Linked DNA regions of Homo sapiens: regions 1 and 2 are each linked to region 3. Evidence: promoter capture Hi-C in 16 types of primary human blood cells and fetal thymus (Javierre and others, 2016). All regions are on one chromosome and are shown on one strand. The core of a region is centred on a gene start or on the middle of the fragment in contact, and the rest is flanking DNA. Distances in the headings are between cores, read along the strand shown.

Region 1 (3,475 bases), core at 925-3,424, 340 kb after region 3:
AGCAACAAAGCAAGACTCCATCTCAAATAAACAAACAAACAAACACTCTAGCCTGGGTGACAGAGTGAGACTCTTGTCTCAAATAAATACATAATTTATGTATTCCACTTCCTGCCCAAACCTTCTCCCCCATCCTCAGGTTTAAATCCAACTACTTCTTAAATTTCTCCATCCACACTGCTCACATGCACCCTAAATCTAACTCCTGACTCCAAGCCCTGATTACCACCACCACCACTGCCACTGCCAATTCATACACCTGATTCTCTGTCTCAACACTTATTCCTTTCCTTTATAGCCCATTTTATAATCTGTTATTTTGCTCTTTATCTGCTTATTTCTTTTTCTCACCCCATGAACACAGTGACTCTACATATTTTATTGCAATATCACCTAGCCTAGTACATCTACGTGCACAGCAAACTTTTGTTGAATAAATGAATGAATGATTAAATGATTCTTTACATTTTTTCCAGCTATCCAGGATGTGCAGGTCTTATCCTTCTCTAGACTATAGATTGGTGCCTGTGCTAAGCACTTATCCCAAGGCCTGGGAAAACAGGGTGTTAGTAAACTCTTGTTTGACTTAGCTGGATGAATAGACTCACCTTCCAGCCTCAGCTATTTTCCCCCAACTTAGCATTAATATTAACAGTGCTGTTTATGAACTCATTCCCTATTTGGGAGGGGAAGGGAGAGCACTAGGCTTGGTGCCTATTTAGGCAAGTCTGCTGCCCTGCACTTCCCAATGCTTACACCTACATGATAGCAGGTGTCAGAGACTAGTGGCAGGATGAATGCAGGTGTCTCCCAGCCCATGCCTTTTCTCTGAAAATGAACCCTCTACTTTCTTCCCATAGCTGAGGGAGCAGGCCTCAGTGGCTATGTTTTTCCTGTAAACATCCTCCTGGACACAGCTGATTGGACACTTAGTGCAGGATGAATGAATCCATTGGCTGCTGTATTAGCATTAGTTTCCTGTGGCTGCTATAACAAACTACCACAAATATTATGGTTTAAAATAACAAAAATGTATTCTTTCACAATTCCGCATGAGAAATCTGAAATCAGTATTACTGAGCTGAAATCAAGGGAGCTCTGCTCCCCTTAGAGTCTATCTCTGGAGAAGAATCTGCCCCTTGTCTCTTCCAGTTTCTGATGACTGTAAACATTCCTTTGCCTGTGGCTGCATCATTTCAATCTCTGCCTCCATCTTCACATCAGCTTCTCTTCTTCTATTTGTGCCAAATCTTCCTCTGTTTTCTTCTTATAAGGATGTATGTGATTGCATAATCACTGACCCACCCTGATAATCCAAGATAATCCCCATTTTAAAATCTTTAACTTAATCACATCTGCAAAGACCATGTTTCCATATAAGGTAACATCCACAAGTTCCATGGATTAGAGTGCAGTTATACTTGGGAGGAAGTATGGGGGCATTCTTCAGCCTACCCCAGATGACCAGGCACCAAGCAGATTTTTTCTCAATAATTCAAACTATGAGACATAGAATAGTCGACGGTGGAAGCTTGAAGTGAATAACTAAGTATTTAGGGTTTGGGCTGAAGCAGCCTTTTTCAGCAATGTGCTCACTGATGAGTGAGCAGGGAAAAGCCACTCTGCAGAGAGAGGCAGGAAAATGGAGCAGATCCTCAGAAGCAGAGATGGGAGAATATGTACGGAGAGAGATGGAGAAAGGTGGTGTCTTGGCCAGAGAGCTTCCCACTTTCCTTTCAATGACCTCTTTTACTTGGGGTACAGTGAGTTTTACTGATATGGAGTAATGAAGATTCCTGGTTTAAGCTATAACCTCAGGCAGATGCCCACATCTTTCAGAGCCCCAGTACCTCACCTGCAAAATGGGCATAATGACAATACTTATCTTGCAAACTTTGAGAATAAAGTACTTTCAGGATCTGATGTCTGGTGTTTCATAAAGATGGTGTGAGAAGGTTGTGTGGTGGCAAGTCAATTACTTTCTTTTTTTCTTTTCCGTTTTTTTTTTTCTTTTGAGACAGGGTCTTTCTTACTTTGTCACCATGGCTGGAGTGCAGTAGCATGATCTCAGCTCACTGCAACCTCTGCCTCCTGGGCTCAAGCAATCCTCCCACCTTAGCCTCCCAAGTAGCTAGGACTACAGGTGCACACCACCATGCCCAGCTAATTTTTGTGTTGTCCAGGCTGGTCTTGAACTCCTGGGCTCAAGTGATCTGCCCGCCTCAGCCTACCAAAGTGCTGGAATTGCAGGCATGAGCCATGGCACCCAAGTCAGTTACTTTCTGAGGATGGTATTCAGAAGTACTCTGGTTGCAAGAAACAAATCTTTCCTGAGTAAAACTGAAATGGGAGTAATTGGAAGGATACTGAATATCTCACAGAATTCAAGAAAAAGCTCAACAGCCAAGCCTCAGGAAGGACTTGAAAGATGGCAGCTCCAAGAACCCCAGAGGCAGGAACTCAAGAGATCTCTCCAGGAGGTTGCAGTCCTAATGGCTTGGTTCCAACTCCCTGCCTTCCATCCAATCTAAGTTCCTGGTGAGAGAGGCTGATTGGCCTGGGTGGGGTTCTGTTCACCACTGGGGGTTGGGGAGGGTTGGCCCTCTGACTGACAGTCCCAAGGCTATCTGGCTGCAGCTACTGTTAGGATTCATTAGGTCATATCTTCACCAGCTCTGTGGAGCAAGCATGGTTTTCTATTATTTGTAAAACAAAAGTATAGTGATGCCTCAGTGGGGAGTGCCTTATCCCACTCTCAGTGATTTAACAGGGTCTGGACTTCTGTTTTTTAAAAGATATATTTTATCCTAAGCTTTTAGAAGTCAAGATGGGGTTAGGGGATAAAAGTCAGGGAGAGGAATGGAGAGAGGAAGAACAGAGCCCAAGGAAGAAAGGTGACAGTCTGGACAACGCAAGAACCCCTGCGGTCTCCAGCAACCACACTCATGTGACTTCTGTAAGTCTTCAATTCCCTATCCTTGAGGCCTCCCAAAAGGTCCACATCCACCCCACTTTTGACTTCACCCAGAGTTTTTATTCTTCTGGCCCCTATTCAAAGTCCAAACCTCTTACATGTTCCTACAGAGACACAAATTCCATGGCCGAAATTCCCCTTTGTGTGCTGAGAAGGGACTGGTAGCAAGGAAAAAACCAAAGATCCAGTAACGAGAAGGGACAAGTGATGTTGTGGATCCCTGAGGAAGCTTCAGGGGATGAAGATTCTAAGTGGAGGCATTGGTAGTAGATGCAAAGGAGCCTTTGCACCAGTAGGCCAGGAGTTAAGGATGGTTAGAGTGGATACGTTTTGGGGAGAGAATCAGAGAGCCTTCCTGCCTCTCTGTCCCTTTTTCTGAGCACTGGAAAGCAAAATCATTGGTCGAGAAGAGGTACGGTTGTGTTGGGAGCTATAGGAATGAGCAGTTTGAAGTATCTGCTGGGGCTGGGCACATGGCTGGGATGCAACCTGCTGAGCAGT
Region 2 (3,578 bases), core at 1,074-3,573, 290 kb after region 3:
CACCTCCTTTGTTTCATTCAAAGCTCACTTTAAACTTTGACTCCTCTAAAAATACTCATTAGAAAAACATAAGGTTAATGTAATTTTTAAGGTAAAATTAACACAAGTCAAACACATTACTAATAATCTGGATTTTTACACTTTCAGGTAAACAAAAGTTAGCATCCTCTGCATCTGGAATTCTACATCAAACTCCCATGGAGTAAATTTAACAAATTTAAAATGTTTAGAAGGTAGTCACATGAAGTGTACAGCACATTGTGGTTGGTCAATGCTTTTGCAATCAGTCCAACATTTGCCTCTAAGTGTTGGGCAACCACAAACTCCATTTTTCTTGGAAGACAGTTCAGTGGATCTCCAACTCAATTTAGTCTGCTGCTGGCTGCTACTTGACTATGTGGTCAAAACTTTTGCTTTCATTCACCTCATACAGAAATCAGGCTGATAATCTTAACATTTCCTCTAACAGGAAAAGTAACTGACATGTGATGATGTATCAGTAATGGAGCATGAAGATTACCCTACTTAACATTCTTAAATGGTTCCCCAGAGCCTACAGGATAAAGTCCAGACTCCTTTAACTGGCTATCATGGATCTTCAGAATCTGAATCTCATTTATCTTTCTAATACCATTTCTCAATCCTCCCCCTTCTTACTCTCTGGCCCAGGCATGCTGAACTATTCTTAGCTCTCTGGAAAAGTCAAATGCTCTAGATATACTCTCTTGACATTTACCTGGCTAGTTCCTACTCACACTACAAAGGTCCATTTAGTGGCCTGCATCCATTTGGAGCCTATCATAATTAAATCAAGCATGCCCTAAATGCAGGAACAGTCAACCCACTTACAGTGAGACACCTCTCACATCAACATTTGCCTTTCTTCACTAATCGCTTGGTAAAATAGTTTATACTGATGACCTCTACTTTTTTTATCATCCAATAATTTCTAAACCCTTTGTAAACTTGCCTTCCCTACCATTACTCAACTTTTTTGAAGGCTGATAGTGTCCTCATAATCATTTATTTCATTGGCAATAGTTTTGGCAAATACTAAGCCTCCTTAAATTCTCTAAAGCTATCAAGATGCTAGTCACCCAGTCACATTTTCCCTTTCTTTTCCTTCTGTGACATAAAGTTATTCTGGGTCTCTTATTCTGATTGTTCCTACACTGACTCCACTTCTTTTTCTTTCACTTTTTCTTCTTTCCTGATTCTCTTTCTCTGATTGTTCCTTCATTGGCTCCACTATCATTCACTGGCTCCACATCTTCCTCTGATTAAAGATATTCTTCTGGGTTCATTAGATTAAAAACATCAGCAATAGGATGCCTCCCACTCCCTCAATTCAACAAACGCATTTGTGTATCCAGTTGATTCTAGCTTCTCAGGGAAAAAAGGAGAAATTACAATCCAGTAAAAAAAGATGTTAGTATCATTAAATATAACTTAGGTTCATATCTCAGGTCTGTCAGTCATGAGCAATGTGGCATGAGGTATACTACTTAATCAATTTAAGCCTCTGTTTTTCATCTATAAATTGGAGAAAATAATGCCTATCTTTTAGTATTACTTTATGAATTGCAGTATGCAAAGTACATATTCCAATGGCAGGTAGGTACATAGTGGGCATTTAATAAAAATTTTTCCTTATTACTGTTATTTCCACACTCACTTCCACCAAACTTATATAGTCTGTTTCAACTTCTTTTAGTGTGTCATACACATCAACAAAAGACAAATCATCTAGAGTACAGATATAAACAGGTTTCCTATCTGGCCCAGTAAGTCCCAACTGCTTGACTCAAAGCTCAATTTCTCCCGATTTAAAAATCTTCAGGTTCTAGCCCCAAGCTTCCTCTTCAACCTTCTCCCTCACTGCTCTTCTAAATGAATACCATTCTCCAAACAAATTGGACCTTTTTTGGTTCTCAAACATGCCGTATACTCTTCACCTCAAAGTCCACCTCAGATTCTACCTCCTTTATGAAACTTATCTCCCTAGCTGGATATTTTATCTTCAGAGTATTTTACTGGTACTTCTCTCAGAAGGTACTCATATTCTGCCTGGTATTCAATTATTTGTGCATAAATAACCTTTCCTGCTTATAAATTGTAACCCCTTTGAAGGGAGAAACTAGGTTCCTATTCGTGCTAGTACTTACCACTTAGCTAAGTGATAACACATGTATATTTAAAAATAATAAACAAGGCTGGGTGTGGTGGCTCAAGCCTGTAATCCCAGCACTTTGGGAGGCAACGCAGGCAGATCACCTGGGGTCAGGAGTTCAAGATCAGCCTGGCCAACATGGTGAAATCCCATCTCTTCTAAAACTACAAAAATCAGCCAGGCGTGGTGGCGTGCACCCGTAGTCCCAGCTACTGGGGAGACTGAGGCAGGGGAATCGCTTGAACCCGGGAGGTGGAGGTTGCAGTGAGCTGAGATGGCGCCACTGCACTCCAGCCTGGGTGACAATGTGAGACACCATCTCAAGATAAATAAATAAATACAAATAAAATAAAATAATAAACAAAAAACCCTGACTCTTTCTCAACGAATTATTTTCCTCAACTTCTTATGAAGAGGTAGGAATAGGGTGGGAAGGGAACAGTGTATATAGGGTACTTACAGAGGCACTGCAACCTGAATTCCCACTTGGAATTCTCCCAGCTGCTGCAAAAAGGCAGGGCTGAAATAGCTATTATAGAAATTGACTAGGTAAGACTTTAAGATCTGTTAATCGATTGCAGTCAACCTCTTGGGAAACCCTTTACCAATCTGCTAAGCTTGTCTATATTTCTTTTCTTCCCAACGGTTATTTTTCCTAACCTTCCAGTCTCCTCTAAACCAAGTAAACAAAAGATTTTAATTTAAACCCACAGTCGAACGCCTAGTGAAATACACGTGTATATTTAATGTTATGTATTAGTTCCTATTTAAGAATTTTATTTCTTTAAAATTTATTTCAACCAAAATCCAACACCAAATTCTATGGGTAATATCTTAAGGCAGCACCTAGTATAGTGCTTTGTATATAGTACACATTCAGTATGTAATGGTTAAAAGAGTGAATTTACAGTCTACAATTGCAGGACTTAATTTTGGCTAATTGCAGTGGAAAACATGAGAAAAGATATAGTCCAAGTAAGAATGACACTTGAGGGTTCAGGCCCGCAACACCAGCTAGGTAGACCCTTAGGTGGCCCAGTGGTATACAAAGATTTAAGCATTCCCAGCTGAGCCCCTTGACAATAGAGATACATCATTTTATTTTGTATCACTTAGTACTGTGCCAAATCCAAAAATACTCTCTCAAGTGCAAGAGTATTCAGGAGTTAGAAATATTGAAAGTTCCACTATTCAAGCAAATTAGGTATAGTTCATATAATTTTTTCAACTCAGGATCCTCAGTCACTCCATAGAGTAAGCAAAGTATGCAATTACTAGAATTATTAGTCTCAATTTACATAAGATCACACTGCTGGCACTAAACTCCAGTTCCAGACTCTTTTTTCCACTATTGAATGCCACAGAAACATAAAAAAAAAAAAAATGGAAGGATCTTTAGAAACCATGT
Region 3 (3,583 bases), core at 938-3,437:
GCATTTAGGTATTCCTCCTTCTAAAAAATTAGGAGGTAGTTGCCTCTCCAAAATGGATTTCTCAGCCATTGCGTCTTCACCGCTTAGGTTAGGTAAAGCTTGGCTATTATATGAGGTTCTTACCTTCCAGCACAAGGGGACGCTACTTTTTTAAAAAAATATTTTTATTTCCATAGGTTATTAGGGAACTGGTGGTATTTGGTTACATGAGTAAGTTCCTTAGAGGAGATTTGTAAGATTTTGGTATACCCATCACCCGAGCAGTATACACTGAACCCAATTTGTAGTCTTTTATCTCTCACTCCCTTCCCATTCTTCCCCTCTGAGTCCCCAAAGTCCACTGTGTCATTCTTATGTCTTTGCATCCTCATAGCATAGCTCCCACTTATGAGAATATACCATGTTTGGTTTTCCATTCCCGAGTTACTTCACTTAGAATAACACTCTCCAATCTCATCCAGTTGCTGTGAATGCCATTAATTCATTCCTTTTTTCTTGCCTAGGAAACCAGGCTTCCTCCTAGACCAAGCTTTAGTCTTCACTACCTCAGGCAGAGAAAGCTTCCCTTGCATGAGGAAGTCATTGCCCAGCCTCTTCTCTGCTCTCTGTGTGCAGCTTCTCCCTCCCTGGCCTAGGGCCCTGACCCAGAATGACTCTTCAGCCCACGATTTTAATCGAAGGCCTCTAATCAACCTGTGGTACTACATGCTACACAAGATTCTCAGAAATCCCTAAGCTTTCTCATGAGCCTCCCACCCTGCTGGGAAATAAGCTGACTTATCAATTAAAGAATATCCAAAGATGTTAAGCCACTTAATCCTCCCCAAAACTCAGTGCGGTAGGGGTTGTTACCTCCCATTATACGAAAGGAAAGTGAGGCTTGGGAAGTAAAGAGACTTGTCCAAGATCACCTTCTGGAGCCACATTTTACACCACAGGTAAGAGAAAAGGGATCCGAGAGGGCACGGACACTGTGTCTTCAGACTGAGTGGGGAAGTACCATTTACCTGGGTACTTATTGGGTGCAAGTTGCATGCCCCCGGTGCTAATACACAAGGGACAAATTTATGGGCCTCCTAAAACTGTGGACAGTGCACCCGTCCAGCCAACTTCATGGGTGCACCGTGAGGCTCTGGTGATGTGGACAGGCTTATAAAACACTCTCCATACTAAGATGAGGTTGTGTTCCTGTGTCTAGGAAACGCTGGAAATTAAGTGTACAGCAATCAAAAAACCTTGACATCATCCTTGATGTCTCTCTTTTTCGCACACTCCAATTCACTCCATTAGGAAACTGTATTGGCAGAATCTAGTGAATCTTGTCCTTCAAGGCCTCTCTCTGCAAGGCTCCCATGAGCCCTGGGGGCTTATGGAGAGTTCTGGGTGGGCAGAGGAAGCCAGACTGCGTTAGGGAAGCAAATTTGGGACCTAAATTTCCTAAGAAGGTTTTAGGGGATAGGGACCCCAATCTCTAAGACCCCAGGATTCTGTTAAGATTTATTTTCTCATTCCAAATAAATGTTCACTGGCAAGCCCTAATTCTGTCTTCTCTTTCTTAAGCAGCCCTCCCTTCCTTCTCCCCACACAACTGTGTATGCTTCAGGCCCCAGAAATCCTTCCCTGCTTTGAGGTCTGGCGTTTACCAGGGCAGGGCTTGAGAATAGAGGTGTAAATTTGTCAGAAGGAAACAGGGGCCGCGCAGTAAGAGAGTAGATCCTCATATAACATGGCAGAAAGTCAATGGATAAATCAAGAAATCGCTATGTAAGTTTCTTTTTTTATTTTTTTATTTTATTTATTTATTTTTTTTTTGCGACAAGCGGGTGACCACTAGAAGAAATTAACGGAGGAATTGTTAAAAAGAGCTGTGATGGGAGGGAGAAGTGGCCTGTTGCTTTCATTATAAGCAAATCTAGATAATTTTATTTTCTAATAAGTAAGTGGGCGTTACTTTCATGTATTTTTTTAAAAGAAAATTAAATAAAAATACAAAACAAACAGAATACAAAACAGGAGAATAAAAAAGCAAACACGCACGCAACACAAAAGAGCCTTGGCGGTTGGGAGCCAGCGGGCGGGGGCGGGGGCAGGGGAGAGGGCGGGGCTTAGGACCCTGGGCGGGGCCAGGGCCGGGTCTCCTTAGGGCCCGCCCCAGCGAAGGGGCGGGGCGCAGATCTGTTTCCCTCAGACTCCATCTGCCCGGGGCCGCTAAGGGAGCGCAAGGTCAAGTTCGCCTTGGCCCCGCCTCCAGCTCAGGTACTAGGGGATCTAGACCTGAGGCTGCCCGGGCCGGAGGCAGCCTTGAGTCCCGAGACCAAACGTCGTTTCCCTCTCGGACCTCGGGCGCCGGGCCGCGCGCTGACCGACAGCCCCTGCTAGGCCCAGCAGGTCCCCTAGTCCCCCGCAGTCCCCCGAGACTCGCCGAGCGCCGTTGCTGAGCCCTGCAAATAGCAGGTAAGCGCAGCGTGGGCCCCTCGTCAGCCCACTAGGACCTGGATCGCGGCTGAATGCCCGGGCCCACGTGACTCCTGGCCCCTAACTGAGTCCTGGGAGTCCCCGCTGGGGCGACAGGTGGCGGCGGAGTGCGGAGCCATCCGGGGTGGCGCGAACCGGGGGGACAGCTCCGCGCTGCCTCTGCGCGCCGGCGGTTCTCGCTGCAGCGTGTCAACCTAACCCCCAGCTCCCCTTTGGCTATGACCAGAGTCCCGGAGACGTGGGTTCGGATCCCACCTTTAGCACTCGTGCACTCAAAGGTTAAAAATATAAGCACAGTGTCTAACAAATACTTAACGTGTTCCACTCAGTGTCCGCTGCTGGGCTAAGTGCTGGGGTTACAGTAGCAGGCCAAAAAATGTGGTGCCCTCCCCCGTGCAGCTCACAGTCCAGTGGGGGGAGACCGACAGCAAATGGATATCTATGCAAACAAGTGTGAACGTTAAAACTGTGGTCAGAGCTATGAAGATTGAAATTCTAGGGTGCTGGAGAGATTTTATCAGGGCCCCCAGCTACAAAGGCTGCTGGAACTAAAACTTTAGAGAATTCCCGGGCGGGGAACAACAGAGCAAACTCATTTTGTTGGGAGAGAATGTGGCTTGAGGAAAGGAGGGTTGGTGGGGCTGGCCTGCAGAGAGCTGGGGGGAAAGCAAGTTCCTTAACCTTAACGTTCTCCTCTGTAAAATGGGATTGTTCTACCCATTGAGAATGGAAATGGTGAATGTAAATGACTTAGCACTGCGTGATGGGTGCTGGATGTTACTCTGCACTAAACATCCAAGGCTTGATGTTGTTCTGGACTAAACACAGTGTGCCTGCCTCTCAGCAAAGTCACTTCCCCTCTCCTTGAGTCCTGTTTCTTCCTCTATCAAATAAGTGGTTCTGAGTAGAATCTCTCAAACAGCCTGTTCTCTAAAATGATGACTGGTTTAGTTGTTCATTCTTGAAACATTTAACTGGCGCCCACTTTACCCTGGCTCTGAGGATTCAGAGAGAAATCAGACAGGGGCCCTGCCCTCCTGGAGCCCATGTCCGGTGGGCCAGGTGAAATAAAGTGACAGTTCCACCCTGGCACAACCCAGAGAAAGGG

What was found. The method cuts DNA at HindIII sites, captures the fragments that hold promoters and counts their contacts. A CHiCAGO score of 5 or more calls a contact.
Region 1: a fragment that was not itself captured here is called in contact with the fragment with the promoter of NMNAT3 in region 3 in 1 of 17 cell types (naive CD4 T cells); the score reaches 6.6 in naive CD4 T cells.
Region 2: a fragment that was not itself captured here is called in contact with the fragment with the promoter of NMNAT3 in region 3 in 4 of 17 cell types (monocytes, naive CD4 T cells, erythroblasts and 1 more); the score reaches 6.2 in monocytes.

What each region holds. Positions count from the first base shown.
Region 1 is chr3:139,340,051-139,343,525 of GRCh38, reverse strand. It overlaps LOC124909439, which reads left to right and starts at 2,653. Exons shown (of 2, transcript XM_047449421.1): 1 at 2,653-2,956. The coding sequence starts at 2,828. The HindIII fragment of the contact is 1,281 bases long and covers 1,534-2,814 here.
Region 2 is chr3:139,391,177-139,394,754 of GRCh38, reverse strand. The region is part of intron 1 of COPB2-DT (COPB2 divergent transcript); the gene reads right to left. Among named protein-coding and RNA genes, the nearest start is that of COPB2-DT, 3.2 kb to the right of the region's middle. The HindIII fragment of the contact is 933 bases long and covers 1,857-2,789 here.
Region 3 is chr3:139,676,576-139,680,158 of GRCh38, reverse strand. NMNAT3 (nicotinamide nucleotide adenylyltransferase 3) reads left to right here and starts at 2,187. Exons shown (of 7, transcript NM_001401600.1): 1 at 2,187-2,454. RefSeq lists a silencer at 2,084-2,133. The HindIII fragment of the contact is 2,876 bases long and covers 739-3,583 here.